Linked DNA regions of Homo sapiens: region 2 is linked to region 1. The links are contacts of gene promoters, found by promoter capture Hi-C in human tissues and cell types (Jung and others, 2019). All regions are on one chromosome and are shown on one strand. The core of a region is centred on a gene start or on the middle of the fragment in contact, and the rest is flanking DNA. Distances in the headings are between cores, read along the strand shown.

Region 1 (5,757 bases), core at 577-3,076:
TGCTTTCTTAAACAAGCTCTCAGCTGATTCTGAGGCAGAAGACCAGCCACTGGGAAACAAGGCGCTATGAATGTTTTTTCAGCCTGTGTTCCTCAGAAATACTAGAGTCAAAAAAGTGACCAGACATCTGAAAAGAAAGCCGGGAGGCGGAGTTTCTATGGTTAGATATGTTTAAGAAATACTGCATATTATATTCCTTTCTGGATGATTTACAATGTACATTAGCAAATTAAGGATTCTGAAATAGCTTGTGGTCAATAAACTTATTCAGCTATACTTAAGAGTATTTCCAAAACTTTAGTTAACTACAGAATCCTCCTATATTAACAATATCTATTAAAACCTCCCAAGACTCAGCAAATGGAATGGACTTTAGGAAGCAACTGCTATGCTACACTTCCTAACTCCAGCCCGCACTGGCCTCTCTCTTTCCTACCTCTCTCTAAGGATGCAATAAGAGAAGTCCTAAGCTCTGGTCATGGCCTCACCCTCACTTACTACGTGTGACTTTTGGGAAGCCACTTAACCTCTTTGGGTTTGCTCCTCAGCAGTTAATTAGGGGTAATAATACCTGCATGCCGATAGGGACTTCATGATTAGGATAATGGAGGTCCAAACACTGTGTAACCCGCACAAGACTGCACTCCCTGGAAGGACTGTTACATCTTTTGGCCTGTGACTAAACTCAGTTGAGCACTGTGTAATATACCAATTGATCTTGTTTTCCCACATTTCGTTTATGGATTTCATCTCCTAAATAACTGTGTGATCGCAGCCCTCTGTGGGCTTCATTTCCTCCTCTGTAAAATGAGGGCTCTATTTTGAGGACCCTCCGGGCACTGGCCTTTTAGAAGTCTACTAAAAATCAAAATGCTAAAGGGCAACACATGTTACACCTCACTATGTACCAAACGCTTCGTAAGCATCACCTCCTGACTCTCCACAACAGCTTTATGAGGCAGATCCTATTATTCGGCCCTATTTTACAGGCGGAAACTTGGACTCAGAAAGGCAAAACAGCTTGCTCAAGGGCTCACAACTATTTAGGTGGTAGAGCTAAGATATGAACCTACCTCTGACACCAAAGTGCACTTCAACACCCTACTATCACCCAACAAAGAATTCTGGCCACAGAATCACCTTGCTGCGGTATTCCTGACTGAATCAAGATACGCTGGGGAAGAGGCATCTGAAGATAGCCCGGGTTCTGACCTCGGCCCTGCTGCCTAACTGCCTGGTGACTTCAGGTAAGTTCTGTGTCTTCTCGGGGTTCACTTTTCTACACGCGAAATGGCGGTGTTGAACTAAGTCAGTGGTCAAACCAGCTCACTTGTGGCGCCTGCTACAACCAGAGTTTCCTGATGACTCTGATGCAGTGTGGGGTGGGTCCGGAAGCCTGGATTTTTATCCGACGCCCCAAATGAGATCGGCGGAACCAGAACTCTAAACCTCCGGTCATGGCTGATGCCCCCGCCCAAGGCCCCCATGAGGGCCTTGGGAGGCTGTGGAGCCCAGGCCAGCGCCAGCCTGGACCTGTGGGGTCCAAGGTCCCCAAATCCTCGAGTGAGCGACGTCAAGGGGGCGCGACACGACCTCGCGAATGTGCGGTCCTTCATGACGTGAGCAGGGCGCGACCGACGGTCCCTTTTCGGTTCTCTACAGCGCAAGGCCTCGCTGAAGCGAACCCATCGTGGGAAGGGCGCGGAGAAAGCGGGGAGAAAGAGCAGGGGGACGTCGGGCCTGCGCCTGGCACCGCCGCTACCTGGATTCGCGGGCCCCTCACACACTCACCTGCCGGTAAGGATAGCTGGCCATGGTGATTCTGACGTCACACTCAGGCAAGGGGTGGGGCTTTCCGCTCTCAAACCCGCCCCTCGTCTCGGCTTTGGGGCTGGGCCCGCATCTGATTGGACGTCCGCGCCTGTCAATCTTGGGTGCTGTCGGCCGACGGAAGTGACGATGGGGGCGGTGGGCGGATGCCTACCCGAGAGACCAGGGGAGCTAAGTGATTGATGGAGCTTCCGGAAGTCTTGGCGGCTGTACCAGCGCTAATGTTCCTCCTTTTCCTGAGGTGGAGTGGGCCGAAGAGGTGGTCAGGTTGGGAAATTTAGTGAGAAGCCTGGGTGGGGTGTTGCTGCGGTAGCCATGTTATAACCTGGCAAATGGGACGCATGATAGTGACGTAATTGCTGGAGTAGCTCCTGAGTTTCCGCAGATGAGCCGCGGGAAAGGAGACGAGGGGCGGTGGCCAGGCGGTTGCCCTGACAACGGGGAACCGACCGACTCTTCCCGGTAGGGAGAGGCGATGGCGGAATTACTCCTCTAATGTCAAGGTACTGGGTACCAGTTAGTACCCTTGTAGTGGGATACAGATCTGTGGTCTTTGGAGAAAAAAACCCCAGATCATTAGAGTTGGAGGAAAATTGAATTATCTAGTGCCTCTTTCTTCATAAATGGGGAAACTGAGGTGCAGAGAGGCAGTTGCCTTGCCCTAGCTCACAGTGGGTCGCCTAGAACCGGGGTCAATGGATGTCCAGTTCTCAGCAGGGAGGTCTAGGTCGGTCCCCATCGTAGGTCAAATCCTGGTGACCGAGTGATCTCAGCACCATGTACTTGCCACTCAGTGGTTCCGTTTCTACACTTATTTGTGTGCTTATTTGATTTCTTTGTCAAGTTCTTTCATGTGGGCTAGGGTTTTGTCTGTTTTTGCTTGTCATTATAACTCCAGTACCTAGTATAGCGACTGACACGATTATTAAAATAAATGAATAAATGAATGTTACGAACTGTTATCCAGTCTAGTCCATCTATCTAACCAAGTGCACTTTCCAAAATCACAGTGCTGATCATGCCACTTGCCCACTACACAGCCTACAATGGATGCTCTTCATCCACGCCTACAAAATAAGGCCCAATCTCTTCATTCTGGTACTCCAGGCCCTTCAGAATCTGGCCCAGCCTCAACTTTCCAATCTTACGGCCCCTTCTGCTACTCTGTATTTCTGTGCTCAGTTCCACCATTCAGCACTTCTGCTTTGGAGGGAGGATCTTTGTTTTATCACTTTCTAACTGTATCACCTTAGGCAGGTTTTTTGTTTGTTTGTTTTTAATTTCCAACTTTTAAGATCAGGGGTATATGAGCAGGATGTGGTTTGTTACATAGGTAAATGTGTGCCATGGTGGTTTGTCGCACACATCATCCCATCACCCAAGTGTTAAGCCCAGCATCCATTAGCTATTCTTCCTGATGCTCTCCCTCTTCCCACCTCCCTCTACGCTCCGACAGACCCCAGTGGTGTATGTGCTCTCCTCATTCAGCTCCCACTTATAAGTGGTAACATGCGGTGTTTGGTTTTCTGTTTCTCTGTTAGTTTGCTGAGGATAATGGCTTCCAATTCCATCCACGTCCCTGCAAAGGACATGATCTTGTTCCTTTTTTATGGCTGCATAGTATTCCACAGTGTATATCTACCACATTTTATTTAGGCAAGTTATTTAACCTCTCTAAATTTCACTTTTCTTAGCTGACAGGAACAAATGTGTAAATTTGAAAATGAGCTTATTATACCTGCTCATGCCCCAAACTTAGGTTCAAACCACTCCTTTCACCTGGACCAGCAGCCCTCCCAACTCCAGTCCTGCAAGGCTCAGTTCCAATTCCATTCTCCACCTAACCCTCCCACATTCCCCTTAGCTCCAGAGTTAGCCACTCTCTCTTGCCACTCCCCCTTTGCACTTGGTACTGTCACTGTGTGGTATTCCAGCCTGCCTTGTATAAGAGTTTTCTTTTGGTGTTTTCCCCAAAACCCATTCCTCTCCATCTCAGAAAATCCACCCAGTCTCTCAGGCCAAAAACCTAAGATCATTCCTGTGTGTCCTTTTTTTCTCCACACACTCCCTCACCTCCCTCATCTCCATTTGCTCTAATTCAAACATGTACACATCTGCTCTTTTCTCCCTGTTCGCACTATCACTGTAGTCCAAGACACTATCATCCGTGCCTGGATCACTACAATAGCCGACTGACCAATGTTCCTGCTCTCACTCTTCTCCCCACGCTTCATTTTCTCCACAGGCAGCCAGAGTGGTTATCTTATTCCTTGGCTTCAACTCCCTGGGGACTTCCCATCACTCTTATAATAAAAGCTAAACTCATCCTAATGACATTCATGGCCACACATACCAGCATCTCCAGCCTCATTTCTTGCTGTTGCTGTCCCCCTTGCCTCATTCCAGCCATGCCGGCCTGGTTGTGCCATTCCTGGAATGTACAGAGCTCATTCCTGGATGTTGGCTTTGGCTGGTCTCTGACTGCCTGCTCATTCCTGCCTCCAGGTCTTTGGACTAGCTTTTCCCTCTGTCTGGGATAGTCTTCCCTTGACTTTTCACTGGTTGGCTTCTCCTTATCATCCAGGTCTCAGTTCAGATATCACCTGGGGTGGGGGGAGTTTCTTGACACTGCCCCCCAAGCATTCCCATCATCTATCTTATTTTTTCATAATACATGTCACTAGTTGAATTGTCCACTTTGTTTACATGTATATTGTAGAATTGTCATTTTCTTATGTAGTCCTCTAACCTCAGCACCTAGAATAGTGCCTAGCATGAATTCAATGTTAGTAGTTATTATTATCATGTATTGAGTGCTTACTAGGTGCCAGACGTTGTGCTAAGTACTATGTGTTGTTTAATTTTCACCACAGTCTTTTGAGATAGAGACTATTACCCATTTATAATGAGGAGCTGAGGCTCAGAGAGGTTAAGTGACCTTCCTGTTATCAAAAAGATAAATGGAGCCCAGGCGCAGTGACTCGCGCCTATAATCCCAACACTTTGGGAGGCAGGGAGGAGGACCGCTTAAGCCTAGGAGTTCGAAACCAGCCTGGACAACATAGTGAGACCCTATCGCTACAAAAAATAGTTTTAAAAAATTAGCCAGGCATGGTGGCATGTGTCTGGAGTCCCAGCCACTCCAGAGGCCAAGGTGGGAGGATTGCTTGAGCCCAGGAGGTCAAGGCTGCAATGAGCTGTGTTTGCACCACTGCACTCCAGCCTGGGCAACAGAGAGACTCTGTCTGGGGAAAAAAAAAAAAAAAAAAAAAGATAAATGGAGAAGTAGGACTTGATCCCAGGTCTGCATTTTTTTTAACTACTCAGTATTTAATAGTTAGTAGATTGTGTCTTCTTTACCTTCCTAACCCCCCAGTTCAAAAAATATTGGTGGAATTGAGCTGCAAAACTTCAGAAGGGAAGAAGGTTGAAGGTCAAGTGGGTATTTGCCTGGAGAGAGAACAGTGACAAGCTGGCCTGCAAACTGGAGTCATGTGACACACACTCATTTATTCCACAAACATATGATCCCATTGGGTTCCCACCTCTTGCCAGGCTCTGTTCTAGGTGATGAGAATCCAACTCCTATGAGAATTATTTGCCCCCATTCCCCTATGCCCAGCAAAGGGCTTAGGAGAACTATCTGTGGGAGGTCTGTGCTATTTCGTGGATGGAGCATCCACATCTTCTCTTAGGGAGTCAGGAACGTGCCAAAGCCAACAGCCAGGGCTGTGCCTCTGAGGACCCACACAGGCCCAGGTATGTTTGTTTTGGAGGGGGCTGGATAAAAGAGAGATCAGGATCTTCCTAAGACTGAAAAACAATCAACTCACTTCCAAAACCTCATCTACCTGAGGCAGACAGAGGTGGGTGGAGAAGTTCCTGTTATTGTTTCACTTGTAGCCCAAGGGGAAAGCATGGATTCCA
Region 2 (5,182 bases), core at 265-2,764, 180 kb after region 1:
TGATCTGATATACTGTCATTGTTAATATTCATTGTATGCTTGAAAAATGATTGAAATTCTCAGTTTAATAGTTTAAGCTTTTCCTTTTTTTTTCTTTTTCTTTTCTTTTTTTCTTTTTTTTGAGATAGAGTCTTGCTCTGTCACCCAGGCTGGAGTACAGTGGTGCAATCTCGGCTCACTGCAACCTCCACCTCCCAGTTCAAGCAATTCTCCTGCCTCAGCCTCCCGAGTAGCTGGCATTACAGGCACCCGCCACCGTGCCCGGCTAATTGTTGTATTTTTAGTAGAGACGGGGGTTTCACTGTGTTGGCCAGGCTGGTCTCGAACTCCTGACCTCATGATCCACTCACCTCGGCCTCCCAAAGTGCTAGGATTACAGGTGTGAGCCACGGCACCTGGCCAACAGTTTAAGCTTTTCTTACCTCAAGCTTTTTACTCATGTTTTTCAAATCCATAGTAATCTATAGTAACTTGAATCTACAGAAATCAGTGTTCAATGCAGAAAACAAAAACTACTCTAGATATTTTAAGCACAATGAGGTTTAATACAGGGCACTGGGTGTTTCAAAAGTCACTGGGAGGCCAGGCACAGTGGCTCACGCCTGTAATCCCAGCACTTTGGGAGGCCGAGGCGGGTGGACTGCTTGAGCTTAGAGGAGTTCAAAACCAGCCCAGGCAACATGGCAAAACCCCATCTCTACAAAAAGTACAAAAATTAGCCGGATGTGGTGGCGCATCCCTGTAGTCCCAGCTACTTAGAAGGCTGAGGTAGGAGGATGGCTTGAGCCCAGGAGGCAGAGGTTGTAGAGAGCCGAGATCGCACCACTGAACTCCAGCCTGGGTGACAGAGCCAGACCCTATCTAAAAAATGAAAAAAAAAAAAAAAAAGTCACTGGCAGGCTATAGGAGTGGACCCGAGGCTGGGCCTAGAACACACATTAGAACTGTATTTATAAATACACTGCTAGGGTAACAATACAAAGGTCTAATACAGGCACTGCCACTGCTGCTTCTACTGCCCACATACACAACACTAGGGGCCAGACATTGATGCGGGCAAACTCGATAGCTCCACAGTTGTGCTTGGAAGCAGTAACAGCCCACGGAAAAGGACAATGGTCTTGGCCTCTCATCTGCTTTTCAGATCTTGCACAATAGCAGTAAGTGTTGGAAAATAATTCACATCTGAAACACTCATTGTAAGGGAATCTGTGAAAGAGTTTTGGCTTTCTATCCTCTACAGGAAGGCATACTAGGATGTGGAGGATTGCTTGAGCCCAGGAGTTCAAGGCTTCTGTGAGCTATGATAGCACCACTGCACTCCAACCTGGGTAACAGAGTGAGGCCCTGTCTCTAAAAAAAACTTTTAAATAAAATTTTAAAAAATCGGCTGGGCACAGTGGCTCACGCCTGGAATCCCAGCACTTTGGTAGGCCAAGACAGGCAGATCACTTGAGGTCAGGAGTTCGAGACCATCCTGGCTAATGTGGCGAAAACCTGTCTCTACTAAAAATACAAAAATTAGCTGGGCATGGTGGCAGGCACCTGTAATCCCAGCTACTCGGGAGGCTGAGGCAGGAGAATCGCTTAAACCCGGGAGGCAGAGGTTACAGTGAACCAAGGTTGTGCCACTGCACTCCAGCCTGGGCAACAGAGCGAGACTCCATCTCAAAAAAAAAAATGTTTTAAATCTCACACAATTATTACGAACGTGTCAATTTTTTCCCTTTACCTCTGTAAGTTCCTGCTTTATATATATTTAAAAACACTTTTTTAGGAGCATGCAAATTCATAAATTTTTACATCTTTTTTGGAGATTATAACTTTCATCAGTGCCAAATGTGCCTTTTCTTCCTATTAATGTTCTTCTGCTTTAATTCAGTTTTTCTGATATTAATATTGGTAACTGCTTCCTTGTGGTAGTATTTAGCTAATATAGTTTTGTGGGGTTTTTTGTTTTTTTTTTGTTTTTCAGAGACAGGGTCATGCTGTGTCACCTAGCTTAAGTGCAGTGGCATGATTACAGCTCACTGCAGCCTCTAACTCTTGGGCTCAAGTGACCTCCTGGGCTCAAGTGATCCTCCTGCCTCAGTCTCTCAAAGTGCTGGGAATTCAGGTATGAGCCACTGCACCCTGCTCATTATTCATTTTTTACAGAGGAGGAAAGGTGGGCTTCAAATCCATGACTTGCTAGGGATTGCTCCGCTGGAGATAAGCGGAACTATGTCCAACCTCAAGTCCAGCTCCATCCAAAGTCCCTCCGCCAGACTGTATTCCCACAAGGGCGAGAACCAGACTGGGTCTGCCTTGTTGGCCAGCTCATTCACAGGGCCTAAGGTGGTGCCTGTCGTTTAATATGAAAACACACCCAGAGGCAGTCAGAGAGGGAGGAAGAACACAATGGCACGACTTCGAGGAAGCCAAGGAAAGACTGTTTGGGGGTTTGTGGATTTTTTTTCCCTGATAAATTATTTATTTTGGAATAATTTTAGACTTACAAAAAAGTTACAAAAATATAAGAAGTTCCATCTACCCCTCACCTATTTTCTGTCATTGTTAACATCTTCTATTACTGTGGTCTCTGCGTAAACTAAGAAACCAACATTGGTACATTACTATTAACTAAACTCCAACTTTATGTGGATTCCACCAGTTTTCCCCTTCAGGTCCTCTGTCTGTTCCAGGCTCCCGTGCGGGCTACCACGTTGCATTAGCTACCATGCCCTTAGTCTCCTCTGATCTGTGACAGTTTCTCAGTCATTCCTTGTTTTTCATGACCTTGACAGTTTTGAGGAGTAATCGTCAGGTATTTTGTAGAGTGTTTCTTAATTTGGATTTCCCTGATGCTTTTCTCCAGATTAAACTGGTCTCAGGGGTTTTGGAAAGAATGCCGCACAGGGAAAATGCCTTCTCACATCAGAGGAGGGGGTGCGTGGTAGCCACAGGTGATATTAACCTCCACCGCTTGGTAGAAAGTGCTTTCCAGACTTCTCCACTGCCAAATTACTACTTTAAGAATTTTAAAGGCTGGAGACAGTGGCTCACGCCTATAATCCCAACACTTTGGGAGGCTGAGGCGGGCAGATCATTTGAAGTCAGGAGTTCGAGACCAGCCTGGCCAACATGGCAAAACCCCGTCTCTACTAAAAATACAAAAATTAGCTGGGCGTGTTGCCGGGCATCTGTAATCCCAGCTTGTCGGGAGGTTGAGGCAAGAGAATCGCTTGAACCCAGGAGGTGGAGGTTGCAGTGAGCTGAGATTGTGCCACTGCACTCCAGCCTGGGCAACAGAACGAGACTCCATCTCAAAAAAAAAAAAAAAAAAAGAATTTTAAGGTAGAGAGAGGTAGTGTTTTCAAAGAATATTGAATGATGTGGAGGAAGTGTCATAATGTGCTGTTAAGCAAAGGAAGAGAATGGAAGGAAATCCACCAGAATGTTGACAGTGGCTCTTTCTCAATTGCTTCTTTTCTCCTCTTGCATTTTCTTTTTTTTTTTTTCTTTTCTTTTCTTTTTTTTTTTTTTTGAGACGGAGTCTTGCTCTGTCGCCCAGGCTGGAGTGCAGTGGCGTGATCTCGGCTCACTGCAAGTCCCGCCTCCCGGGTTCACGCCATTCTCCTGCTTCAGCCTCCCAAGTATCTGGGACTACAGGCATCCGCCACCACGCCTGGCTAATTTTTTTGTATTTTTAGTAGAGACAGGGTTTCACCATGTTGGCCAGGATGGTCTCAATCTCCTGACCTCATGATCTGCCCACCTTGGCCTCCCAAAGTGCCGGGATTACAGGCGTGAGCCACCATACCCGGCCTCTTGTGTTTTTTCATTACTCTACAATAAATATATAGGACTTGAAATTTCTGTAACGTTTTCAAAAAATTGTATATAGTATCACCTCCATTATACAGATAACACATACAGACATTTATTCACAGGAACAATGTATAAAATATCCATTAAATGTTGATAGCTAGGGATTATCTCTGGATGGTAACTTTTATTTCTTCATTGTGATTTTATGTATTTTTCCGTTTTTAAATAATAATCTTATTTTACTTTTTTAAGAGACAGGGTCTTGCTCTGTCACTCAGACTGGAGTACAGTAGTGCAATCATAGCTCACTGCAGCCTCCAATTCCTGGGCTCAAGTGATCCTCCTATCTCAGCCTCCTGAATAGTTAAGACTACAGGCATGCCACTGCACCCAGCCCTGTTTATTATACTTTTTAATTGGACTTCAATTGCATAGAATGAGGTTTGTCATACTAATTGGGTATATAGTACACATTCTCATCATCGGTCCATAAAAGGCCTTCTTTGAATCATTTATGAATTTATCTATTAGGGTGCCTATTTTAATAATATAAAAATATCCATGGAACCACTGCCCAAGACGAAAACTAAAATACTGATAAGAACTTACACAGACTGATATGATTCTCCTCACTTTTATCTACCCACCGCAACCCCTAATATGAATCCTGTGTTGTGTTCTTTTGCTTTCTCTTTTATGTAGTTTTATCACACCCACATCTGTTTCCCCAAATTATATGTATTTTTTAATGTGATATGTTGGGATTTACTTTTTTTCCTTTTCTTTTTTTTTGAGACAGAGTCTCACTCTGTCGCCCAGGCTGGAGTGCAGAGGCGTGATCTCGGCTCACTGCAGCCTCTGCCTCCCAGGTTCAAGCGATTCTCCTGCCTCGGCCTCCTGAGTAGCTGGGATTATAGGCATGTGCCACCATACCAGGCTAATTTTTTTTTTTTTGTACTTTTAATAGAGACAGGGTTTCACCATGTTAGCCAGGCTGGTCTCCAACTCCTGACCTCAGGTGATCGGCCCGCCTTGGCCTCCCAAAGTACTGGGATTACAGGCATGAGCCACCACCCGGCCAGGATTTCCTTTTACCACTCAAAATTATATCGCTAAGTTTCATCTATATTGTTGCATTTGCCCAGCTCCTGTGTAATATTTCATTGTATGTTATTCCAAAATGTATGTGTCTCTTCTCCTCTCAGTGGTTCTCTGGATTATTTCCAGGTTTTGTGCTGACAGGAACATTCTAGCATGTGTTTCCTAGTGTATGTGGTAAGAGTTTCTCTTGTATATGAAGTAAGGAGGGAAATTGCTAGGTCATAGTTGTCTTAGTTTGGGTTTCCCTAGAGCAGAGCGTGAGACAGAGACT

Evidence for each region. The method cuts DNA at HindIII sites, captures the fragments that hold promoters and counts their contacts. A contact is called where the count stands out against the background at its distance.
Region 2: a fragment that was not itself captured here is called in contact with the fragment with the promoter of PEF1 in region 1 in 1 of the 25 tissues and cell types used here (dorsolateral prefrontal cortex).

The regions. Positions count from the first base shown.
Region 1 is chr1:31,643,050-31,648,806 of GRCh38, forward strand. It overlaps PEF1 (penta-EF-hand domain containing 1), which reads right to left and starts at 1,827. Exons shown (of 5, transcript NM_012392.4): 1 at 1,792-1,827. The coding sequence starts at 1,815. It overlaps PEF1-AS1 (PEF1 and COL16A1 antisense RNA 1), which reads left to right and starts at 1,087. Exons shown (of 6, transcript NR_184313.1): 1 at 1,087-1,247; 2 at 1,663-1,797. RefSeq lists enhancers at 1,557-2,327, 1,647-1,716, 1,957-2,296. The HindIII fragment of the contact is 9,809 bases long and covers 1-5,757 here.
Region 2 is chr1:31,821,850-31,827,031 of GRCh38, forward strand. No RefSeq gene overlaps it. Among named protein-coding and RNA genes, the nearest start is that of SPOCD1, 8.4 kb to the left of the region's middle. The HindIII fragment of the contact is 7,212 bases long and covers 1-5,120 here.